2 separate regions of the Homo sapiens genome follow, and region 2 is linked to region 1. Evidence: promoter capture Hi-C in 16 types of primary human blood cells and fetal thymus (Javierre and others, 2016). All regions are on one chromosome and are shown on one strand. The core of a region is centred on a gene start or on the middle of the fragment in contact, and the rest is flanking DNA. Distances in the headings are between cores, read along the strand shown.

Region 1 (5,128 bases), core at 440-2,939:
TTTTATCAACATGCAGACACCAGCAAGCAACTTGCCAAAGGCCCCCTGCTCAGCCCATGGGGAACACAGAGGGCCAAGCCTGGCCTTGGGCCATTTGCTTCACTTCTCTGAGCCTCAGTTTCCTCATCTGAGCAGTGAGCTAGCAATCCCTCCTTACAGGATGTTTTGAGGAGCCAGCAGGGGGCCAGGCAAGCAATGAGTATTCCAGGGGTGGCAAAGGACCCTGCGGCCTTGAAAACACATTTAGGTTTCAGCCCAGACTTGCTGCCAGAAACAAGGGCAGCTATTTCTTCTAGCTGGGCAGGAGGGCACCAAGGATGGGCCCTCCAGGCATGGGCACAGGCTTGAGAGCCAAAGCAGTGCCCGTCAACATGGCCTCTTTCATCTGAGCATCAAAGCAAATCACCAAAGTGGAACCAGTTTCCCTCAGCCTGGCAGCGCCTGCTGGCGGGTTGCCAAAGACAGGGAAAAGGAGCAGGAATTCCTGGTGGCCACCTCGGCAGCCTGATCAGGTGCACACCAAGACACACCCCCGAGGAGCAATGTCCTCCAGAGACCCAAGAAGGCAGCACCCTGTGCTGGGAAGTATGCAGGGTCAGAGTGAGTTCAGGCCTGGGTTCAAATCCTGGCTCAGCCACTCTGTGGGGCCCTGGGCAGATCATTGCACCTTTCTGAGCCTCCGTGATCTCACATGTCCAGTGGAGAGAATAAGGCTACTGTCACTGGCCTGGGCCTGCAGTCAGGAAGGTCTCACTACAAAGGCCCTTCCCTCCCCATCCCATGCGGAGTCTGAACTGAGCAGAGCCAATCCCAAAGAGGAAAGGGGAAACGTGCAGGGCCGTCCCAACCCCCAAGTCACAGTAACTCACAGTGCCCTAGACTGGGGCTCTGGACATCAGAGTTCCTCAGGAGACCTTAGAAATCACCATGCAGCAGGCTCCCTGCTGTCTACTCGCTAAGGCTACAAATGGGTAAACTGAGACCCAAAGAGGGAAAGGGAATTGGCCACACCGTACAGCAGTAGATCAATAACCTAGAGGCTCTGGCGCTATCTCACTGTGTGGTCTTAGGCCCTCACTGACCTCAGTTTCCCCATCTGTACAGGAAGAATGGGCATTCCAGGACTCAGTGCCCAAACCTGAAACTCTGGGGGGTGTTATTGCCCCCAGGGAGCCCAAGGCTGGAAGGACCTGCAAAGGGGGCATGAGCTCTTGGCATCCCAGGTCTGCTGTCATCAAAGAGCCATGGGCTCAGCCCTGGGCTTGGTGCAGCTCCAGACGTCAGCCAGCTCTCTGAGTAGCTTCTGCTCCCCAGAGACCTGGAAGACCAAGGTCCCTGCCTCATGCATGGTCCCTGAGGGCTGAGGAGCACCCCTGCCCTGACCCTTATAAGCACCATGGTCCCTGTCTGCTCCTGCACCAGCCCACTGCCCACCACTGCCGCCCTGCTCCCTTCCCCATCCTGGATCCCGTGTGCTCCCTGCCATATCGGTACCCAGCCCCCAGTGCTGAGGGTCAGGGCCCACTAGCTCAGTAGCCCCCATCTCACGCAAGCCCCCTCACCTCTGGACTGGGGGGCGAGGCCAGGGCTGCACAGGGCCTGGAGCAGCAGCAGCAGGCTGCAGAGCATGAGGCTAGTGCCAGAGAGGACCCTCATAGTTCTGGCAGCACGGGCAGCAGCCGGCACGGTTGTGGGACCAGTGGGGTCCAGGTCTTATCAACCCCACTGCCCGCCCAGCCTTTGGGTCAGGTGGCCCCCAACTGACGACTGACGTGGGGGCAGCCCGCCCTGGCCCCCAGCCCCCCCAAAGGGCGGGGCTTGGGCTGAATGGAGGTGTGTGTGCCCTGAGAGGGCGGGAGAGCCTGGCCCAGGCTTCAGAGGCCCCTCTGACCACAAGGGCTCCTTTGCTTGCAGAAGCAACTAGAGCGGCAGCTGGAATTTGGGAAATCTCAGGTGGGTGGGGGGTGGCTCTTCCAGGGGCTGGAGCCCGCGCTGCCTTGAAGCTCCACCCCAAGCCTAGGCATACCTGAGTCCAATGGCCCGGCCCAGCCCTGTCCTGCACCTTCATCCCACACCCAAATCCTTCCCCCACTCACAACCCCAAGTTTCTCATTAAATTCACTTCCCCTTCCCCAGCCTCACTGTGCCCTGCTCTCCGCACACGCCCTGCTCTCCAGCTACCCCTGGATTCTCCTCGAAGGCCTCCAGGCCATCACACATGCAGGGCCATCTGCCCAGAATCCTTTCCTCTCACTAACTCTCTGCCTTGTAGAATCTTTCAAGGTCATAATTAGGGCTAACATGTACCTTCACTGTTAGTATGGGCAGGGCAGTGGAGACCATGGTTAAGAGCACAGACTTGGGAGCCAGGTTACCTGGGTTTGCTATACCAGCAAACCACCTGTGTGACCATGGGCAAGTGACTTCACCTCTCATGTCTCAGATTGCTCATCTGGAAACTAGGGATGGTAATAGCGCCTCCTAGGGTTGATTCAAGGAGCAAAGGAGTTAGATGAGGTTTCTCAGTTAATCCTCTTGACAACTTTTTAAAGCAGCTACTGTTAAAGAACAGAGAGGTAAAATAACTTGTCTGAAGTTACACAGCTAAGAAGTGTTATTGCCAGGATAGAGCCCCAGGCCCGGCTCTCAGCCATGCTGCTGTCTCAGTGTAGCTTGATGTAGGTGGCTTCTCCCTGCCCATCTCTTCCCCCTGTGGGTCCCTGCTTGGCCCACCTCACCTGTCAGCCAGTGGATTCAACTCTGCATCAGGCCCAGCACAGAGAAGGCAAAGATAAAGCCTTCTAAACAAAGTAACATCAGCAGGAACGATCCCCTTCTTTGCATTTGGGTCAAGTAGTTCATGAGATAGAGCAGAAAGAGCATGGGCTTGGCTACCTGAGAGATCCAGGTTCAAAGCCACTTCTGCTCCTAACTGGCTGTGTGACCTGGAGCTGGTGACTTAACCTCTCTGAGCCTCAGCTTGCCATGGTGCAGTGGGAATGGTCGTTCTTGATCTGCCTGCCCCATGTGAGGGGCAAGAGGGGGACAGAAGTGGAAATGGAGTTAAAGGATTGTCATTGCTCCAGGAGGCAGAATCCTAAGACTTGGGACCTATGCACTTCACTCTGTGTAAATTATACCTCAATAAAAGGAAATGTACAGACAAAAAGCGACTGCTGGGTGCAGCAGACCCAACTCACCGCTACCACACTCTTTAGCAATAATTATAACAATCCCTTCCACCCTTGACATGGCAGTTACTCATTCTATCACTCTATCTCATTTGCTCACCCAACAAACCTGTGAAGTCAGCAGATTTGAGTCTCTTGGCCCATTTGTCAGATGGAGAAACTGAGGCCCAGAGAGGTTCACTGACTTACCCGAAGCCACCAGCCAGTTTAGGGGCAGAGCCAAGCCTAAAGCTCAGGCCTCACTCCCCTTTGCACCAGTGTTAGAGAAGGAGGAGGTTAAGAGCATTGCCTTCTGACTTTTTCCCCTTATATTTCATGTGTGCCTAATTCACTGCCCTCCCCAATTCCAAAAACCACTTGAAGCTGCTGATTCCTTTTTCTGCTACAACTTTGAAGTCGAATTCTTCTCCAGAGATGCTGCAAGGTGTGATGATGGTGGTGCCTCTCCCTTCCCAAAATGGTGTAATTAAGGTGTTACCTGTCTCCCCAAGGACGTGAGCTCCCTCCGAGCAGGGGGCTTGCCCGTCTCAGTCACCACTGAATCCCTGGGACCCAGCATGGTGCCTGGCACAGGATCTCTGGTAAGCAAATGAAGGAATGAATGAAAACTAACTACGAACCTGTTCCATTTCCCTATAAACCACCCAGGGTCACACAAGGGCCATCCACGGTGACCAGCGGTGAGAAACGCAATGCTGTCCTCGTGCCATGCTGGAGGTGAACGAGGAGAACGTGAGCTGGGGTCTCCTCACCAACTGCTCCCCCCACCCCAACCCCCCTGACGGCCAGGGCTGTGTCCAGGGCTCAGGGCACAAGGCTCCGTTAGCTGGGCAGCAGCTGGCCCATGAAACAGCCCTTTCAGCTCCACCTCTGAATGGCAGTTCTATGGGCTCCTCGGAAGAACACAGGCGCCTTCTCTGTGTCACTTCTCCGCTCATTAGCAGAGCTGCAGAAATACACTACAGGTAACTTTTCAGGAACAGAGATGGGTCCCCCCCCGAACACCACCAGAAAAAAAAAAAAGGCAGCTTTGGCATTCTATAACAGGGGCAAGGCCTGGGGGCGGTGGTGGAGAGGAGATCTAAAAGTTCAGCATATACATTAAGGAAAGAAAATCAATATTTGTGTTTTTTAAATGTGAAACATTTTTCCCCAGGACTCAAAATTGAGAACAGTGTGTCCGGTATGAGCCAGAAGGAAAAAAAAATGCACGAAGGGGCCTTCTGCAAGGTTGCTCACAAGTCAAACAGGCAGCTGTGAAGGGCTCTGCTGTTCCCTCCTCCTGTTTTCACATCCCTCGGGCTTCCAGAAACTTAAAGCCGTTAGTGTTTCATGCAAGAGAGAGCATCTGTGATCCACGGAGAGGCCCCTGGGCAGTGTGGTTCAGTGGGAAGCACACAGGACTCCCTCCCCAGTGCTCCCAGGATCAGCTCTTTCCCTAAAGAGCAAACCTGGTTATCTCGCAATGACCTAGCTAACACAAATGCAACATCAGCCGGGGCAGCCTGCCCCCTTCACTCTTTGCCCACCATCAGCTGTTTGGCAGTATCCATATACGCCTTTACCAGTATTTATTTAATCTTTTTGTTTAATTCACTCTAAACCAACTCACTTCTTAAAAATTTCTCTGCCTTATAAGAAATAATAGCCATGAAATCACTGGTTTGATGTACGGTTTATTTATTTATTCCAATAAACACTCATTCAATATAAAATTCAAATAAATTCAAAACTAATTAAATTTAGCTTTTTCATCCACATATCACTGAAAATTTTCTTGTTTTCTGCCAGTGGCATGCACGACAGACTTTGAGGAATCCTGTGAAGTGAAACGGCTTTAGAATCAAAGAGAGCTGGGCTTGAGTCCCCCTCTGTCACAGGCCAGCCATGGTGACTTCCGGTAAATCCCTCCTTTTTCTGCCTGTTTCATGTCAGTA
Region 2 (5,445 bases), core at 708-3,207, 47 kb after region 1:
TCCATAGTGTTTGTCCACCGAGTGGCACAGGCCACTGTCCGGGGTTGCTGGAAGGGAAGGGCTGTGTTGTGCTGGGACGAGCACCAAGCCGGAAGTCAGCTGTTTTACTTGCTTCGTATACAGACTTACTCTCTGTGCCTCAGTTTACTCCTTTGTAAAATAAGAGAGCCTTCCGTCATGAACTTCAAAATGAGAAGTATGTACTAGCTGCACACTGAAGCCCCTTCCTACTCCTCCCTGTCTCTCCCACTTTGGAGCTATTTATTCTTTGGGAGTTCAGCCTGGGCTTTGGCAAACAGGGAAGGCTTCCAGGAGGAGGCGGGCCCTGATATGCTGAGACCTGAGTTTCTGATCCAGTCTGGGAGCCAAAGCTGTGAGGAGGAATGTGTGTTGAGCAGCAGCTCTGGACCTCACTCTCTTACCTTACCTGGTTCAATCCTCACAACAACACAACCCAGTGATCCAGCATGGCCAGATGACCTTCCGTTTTAGAGATGAGAAAACCAAGGCTCTGAGACGTTGAGCCATTTGCCCAAGATCCTAGAGCCCAGATCCTAAGTGGCAAACTGGAACTCAAATGCTGGCCTGGGATGAGCAGAAGCAGGTTCTCAGCTTCTTCAAGGGTTGGAGGGGGCTGGGGAGGTTGTGTCAGGGTGTGGGCAGCAGTTGGTGGTCAGTGACTTTCCCTTGTGGCAGGAAGGAGAGGTAGGGGAAGCAGCTGGAGTTGGGAGATAGGAGGCTGAGGCAGCAGGACCCACAGATAAGGCAGGAGGTGAGCAGGGGCGGGTGTGCACATCCCGGCAGCTGGAGTGTAGATGAAATCTCAGAGAGCCCGGCAGAAGGGCTGGACCAGGGACCACGTCACTCCCAGGCCTGACCACTCCCTGCTTCTCCAGGCCACGTCTCACCCCTGAGCCTCGCAGCAGCCGTCACGGTACTTTCCTGGGCCTGGAAACGGCAGCCCCAGCCAGGCCTCCCTCTTCTCCAGGGTCAGATACAGGGGGCAGTGTGACATGATGCGAGAGCCGGGGCTCTGTCCTTCTGCTCTGCCTCAGGCCTGCTACACCTGAAAGCAGTCAGCCAGGCCTGCAGACACTCGGGGCTTCCCAGGACCAACACGGTCCCACCATCTTGTTGTTTCACTTCGAATGTCTTCATGACAGGCACACACTTTCCAGCTCTCCACCGTCCCCGCCTCTCCCTATTGTCCCACAACTTGTCACACCCCACATTTACCTTCTCTACCTGGCCCCTAAAGAATTTCGATTTTGAGGACCTGAATTAGTTGAGCGGATGCACTGAAGGTCAAAGTTTGTAATTTTCAGGGAGAAGGAACCTTTGAGATATAAGGGCCCAGAATGAAGCAGTAACATCCCCAGAGTCCCACTGCAGAGCGAGACAGAAATGGGACTAGAACTCCTGACTCTCAGTCCAGTGCTTGCTGACCTGACTTCTGCTGCTTCCCAGAAGCCTCAGGGAGGAAAACAGAAACAACTGAAGGAAAAGAATGGAGAATTCACAGTTTGGGAGGCTGAGGCGAGAGGATCACTTGAGACCAGGAGTTCAAAACCAGCCTGGGCAACATAGCAACACCCCATCTCTACAAAAAAAAAAAAAAAATTTAAGTTAGCCAGTATGGAAGTATGCACCTGTAGACCCATCTACTCCGGAGGCTGAGGCAGGAGGATCCCTTGAGCCCAGGAGATCAAGCTTTCAGTGAGCTATACTTGCGCCACTGCACTCCAGCCTGGACGACAGAGCAAGGCCATCTCCAGAAAAAAAAAAAAAAAAAAGAATGTAGACTACAAAAGAGTGTTGTTCTGAGCACTGTGACCCAAGGCAAGTCCCTGCCCTGCCACCTCTGGGCCTCAGTTTCCCCATCCACACAGAAGGAGGCTGGCCCAACAATGGTAAGTGCTGCTGTGAGCGCCTGAGTCCACCTCTCCCTCCCAGAGGCCGAGTGGGACAAACCACACGTTCCTCAGGCCTGTTTCGCACGAGCTAATATTGACCCAACGCTGTTTCCCTTGGCCCTGCACAGGGGCTATGTTTGCTCTGGCAAGACCCCAGCCTCGCCTGCGCCCCTCTGGGCTTCAGATGTGCTGGCCCAGGCGGGAGAGGCCAGGTCAGGGGCGTGTGCCTCATAGGCTAAGGGGCAAGGCAGAAACCACAAGAGGCCCAGGACACCATCCCGGGCCCCCCTTAAAGCTTCTAGTGTATTTATATATATTTAAAAAAAAGAACTGCCCAACCTCAGTTTTAAAATCTCTGATCTTTTTTAATGTTATATTTCATAAATACACTTTTTTAACACACATCTAACATGCATGCATACACACACACACACACACACACACGATATGATAACTAAATGTTCAGCCTCATCTGCGAGTCTGGTAGAAAACTTAAAATTAGCCCCTACATTGGAGAAATGGCTGATTCCAGGGTCAGGCCAGAGAAAGAATAAGATGAGCCTAAAACATCTTTTGTGCCAGAAAATAAGGAAGAACTCAAGGAATGACAGGGACATCACTGGGGACATGAAGAAGGTCCCTCCGGTTTCTTCTGAGCATCAAAATAAATACCCACAGTAACACAGCATCACCCACTGAAAAAAATAGGGAACCGTGAGTTCTGGCTGATGTGAATTAATTAATGCATAACAGAAGTTTGGTGTGGAGTAGGCTACTCATGGTGTCTCAGAGTGCCGACCGAACAAAATCCTTTTCCATGATGAAGGGAAAAGAGTCACTCTGCAGTGGAGAAGCCAACCAAGGGAGCCAAGTGGATTTCATCAGTACCAGGGCAAATGAGAACCGTGAGCCACCTGCAGGGATGCAGGAAGAGAAGCAGCATCTCTCTGTGATCAGCCCCCTGAAGATGCTCAGCCTGATATAACCAAGAGGAGACAAACCCAACATAAGGAACGTTCTCCAAAACCGGCCTGGAATATCCAACAACGTCAAGGGCACAAAACCAAGACTCAATGAGGAGTTATTCCAGGCTAAAGAGACAGGATGACTCAATGGCTAGGACATTCCTGGAACAACAGGGGGACCTAGGATACAGTGTGAGGTTTGCTTTGGGATTTTCATATGGCATTGTGTTTGTGTAAGAGAATGTCCTTGTTAGTAGGAAATAGACACAAGTATTCAGCAGGGATAGAGCATGATGACAGCAACTTAGTCTCAGATGGCCAGGGAGAAAAATAGCTTTCCCTACTGTACTTGCGATGTCCTTATATGTTTGAGATTGTTAAAAAATCAGAAAGGAGATGGGGACTTCAGAAATGTCAGGTCAGAGCCAAGATGGTCAGGCAGGAGGCAGGAAGAAGGAGCCTGCCTTGAAACATATCCCTCACTTTTTTTTTTCCTTTGGAGACAAGGTCTCGCTCTGTCACCCAGGCTGGAGTGCAGTGGTGCAATCACAGCTAACTGCAACCTTTTCCCTCACTTTTTTTTTTCCCCTTTGGAGACAGGGTCTCACTCTGTCACCCAGACTGGAGTGCAGTGGTGCGATCACAGCTCACTGCAACCTTGGCTTCTTGGGCTCAAGCAGTCCTCCTGCCTCAGCCTCCTGAGTAGCTGGAACTACAGGCATGAACCACCATGCCCAGTTAATTATTTTATTTTTTGTAGAGATGGGGGTCTCACTATGTTGCCCAGGCTGGTCTCAAACTCCTGGGCTCAAATGATCCTCCCACTTCGGCCTCCCAAAGTGCTGGGATTACAGGTGTGAGCCAGTGTGCCTGGCTAATTATTTTATTTTTTGTAGAGATGGAGTCTCACTATGTTGCCCAGGCTGGTCTCAAACTCCTGGCCTCCAGTGATCCTCCTGCCTCAGCCTCCCAAAGTGCTAGGATTGCAGGCATGAGTCACTGTACCTGACCCGTCCTTCTCCTTTCAAAGCACCCCAGCGAAGAGATGACAAATAGATGTTAACAGGGGACAAGCCCTTCCTGAGCCACATGGGAGCAGAGCAGCCAGGCCCTAGTAGCTCCCTGCTCTGATGTTTCTCTCCTCCTCCCTCAGGCTCTCTGAGGCTTCCCGGGGGTTCCGGGCTGCAACACCAGACAAAGGCGGCATGCTGAGTTCCAGTCCTCACTCTGCCTCAACTTGCTGCATCCACTTGGGTAATTTCTTCCCTGCTCTGGGCCTCCGTCCCAATCTGTTCAAAGGGACATCATGATGTTCTCACTAGTTGCTTTCTGCTGAGCTGGAGGCCAAGGACTCAGACTCGGTTTGACTGGTTCTGCCTCTGACCTGCTGGGAGACCTGGAGCAGGTCACTTAACCTCTCTGTGTTTGCTTTATCAGGATAATCTGTTGAAGTATTCACCAATGCCTCTCTCTCCAGAATTTCCTGTTGCCCCTCCCTCCCTGCCCCCTGCCCTTAGTCCCCACATCTGGGCAGCTGAGCAGGACACAGAAGAATATAGGCACAGCAGTCAGAGCACCTGGTTTTCCATGTTTCAAGAGCCCACGCTCTGAATAGTATAGAAAATTTAGAAGCTCACGCGATGAACCAGAAATGTCCTCCCCACCCTTGAGACCAGGTAGAAGGTGAGGAACAGAGGAGAAAGCTGGGGTTGGGGGTTCCCTGCAACCCCCTGGAAGTGACAGTTCTCCCAGGCCCAGGGAAAGACAGCAAACGGTGAGAGCAGAGCCCAGGGCATGGCCAGAGCCACCCCATGGAGAAGTGCAGGAGCTGCCTGGCAGGCAACAGGGCAAGAGAGCTCTCTCAGAGGGGCAGATGCAGCTGGATGCTGCCCCTCTACCCACAGTAACACAGACCCGGCACTGACGTGGTGGCTCTCACAGTGGCACGGACCCGGCACTGACGTGGTGGCTCTCACAGTGGCACGGACCCGGCACTGACGTGGTGGCTCTCACAGTGGCACGGACCCGGCACTGACGTGGTGGCTCTCACAGTGGCACGGACCCGGCACTGACGTGGTGGCTCTCACAGTGGCACGGACCCGGCACTGACGTGGTGGCTCTCACAGTGGCACGGACCCGGCACTGACGTGGTGGCTCTCACAGTGGCACGGACCCGGCACTGACGTGGTGGCTTTCACAGTGGCATGAACATGGCGTTGATGTGGAGGCTCTGAAGGCACACTGGTCAGGAACGAGGAAGGACTCTGCAGTTTCCTGCAAAGTCTAGACAAGAATGCAAGGCAAGGCACAGGAGCCCATGCCTGGAATCCCAGCACTTTGGAAGGCCGAGGTGGACAGATTGCTTGAGACCAGCCTGGGCAACATGGCAAAAGCCCATCTCTACAAAAAAAAATTAAAAATTAGCCAGGCGTGGTGGTGCATGGCTGTAGTCCCAGCTACTCGGGAGGCTGAGGTGAGAGGATCACTTGAGCCCAGGAGGTCGAGGCTGCAGTGAACCATGTAAGCACCACTGCACTCCAGGCTGGGTGACAGACAGAGTGAGACCC

The links. The method cuts DNA at HindIII sites, captures the fragments that hold promoters and counts their contacts. A CHiCAGO score of 5 or more calls a contact.
Region 2: a contact is called between a fragment that was not itself captured here and the fragment with the promoter of MATN1 in region 1, in 5 of 17 cell types (total CD8 T cells, naive CD8 T cells, naive CD4 T cells and 2 more). The highest score is 7.5, in total CD8 T cells.

The regions. Positions count from the first base shown.
Region 1 is chr1:30,721,896-30,727,023 of GRCh38, forward strand. It overlaps MATN1 (matrilin 1), which reads right to left and starts at 1,690. Exons shown (of 8, transcript NM_002379.3): 1 at 1,563-1,690. The coding sequence starts at 1,656. It overlaps MATN1-AS1 (MATN1 antisense RNA 1), which reads left to right. Exons shown (of 4, transcript NR_034182.1): 3 at 3,840-4,156; 4 at 4,348-4,851. The HindIII fragment of the contact is 11,974 bases long and covers 1-5,128 here.
Region 2 is chr1:30,768,371-30,773,815 of GRCh38, forward strand. No RefSeq gene overlaps it. Among named protein-coding and RNA genes, the nearest start is that of LAPTM5, 13 kb to the left of the region's middle. RefSeq lists an enhancer at 4,966-5,445. The HindIII fragment of the contact is 498 bases long and covers 1,709-2,206 here.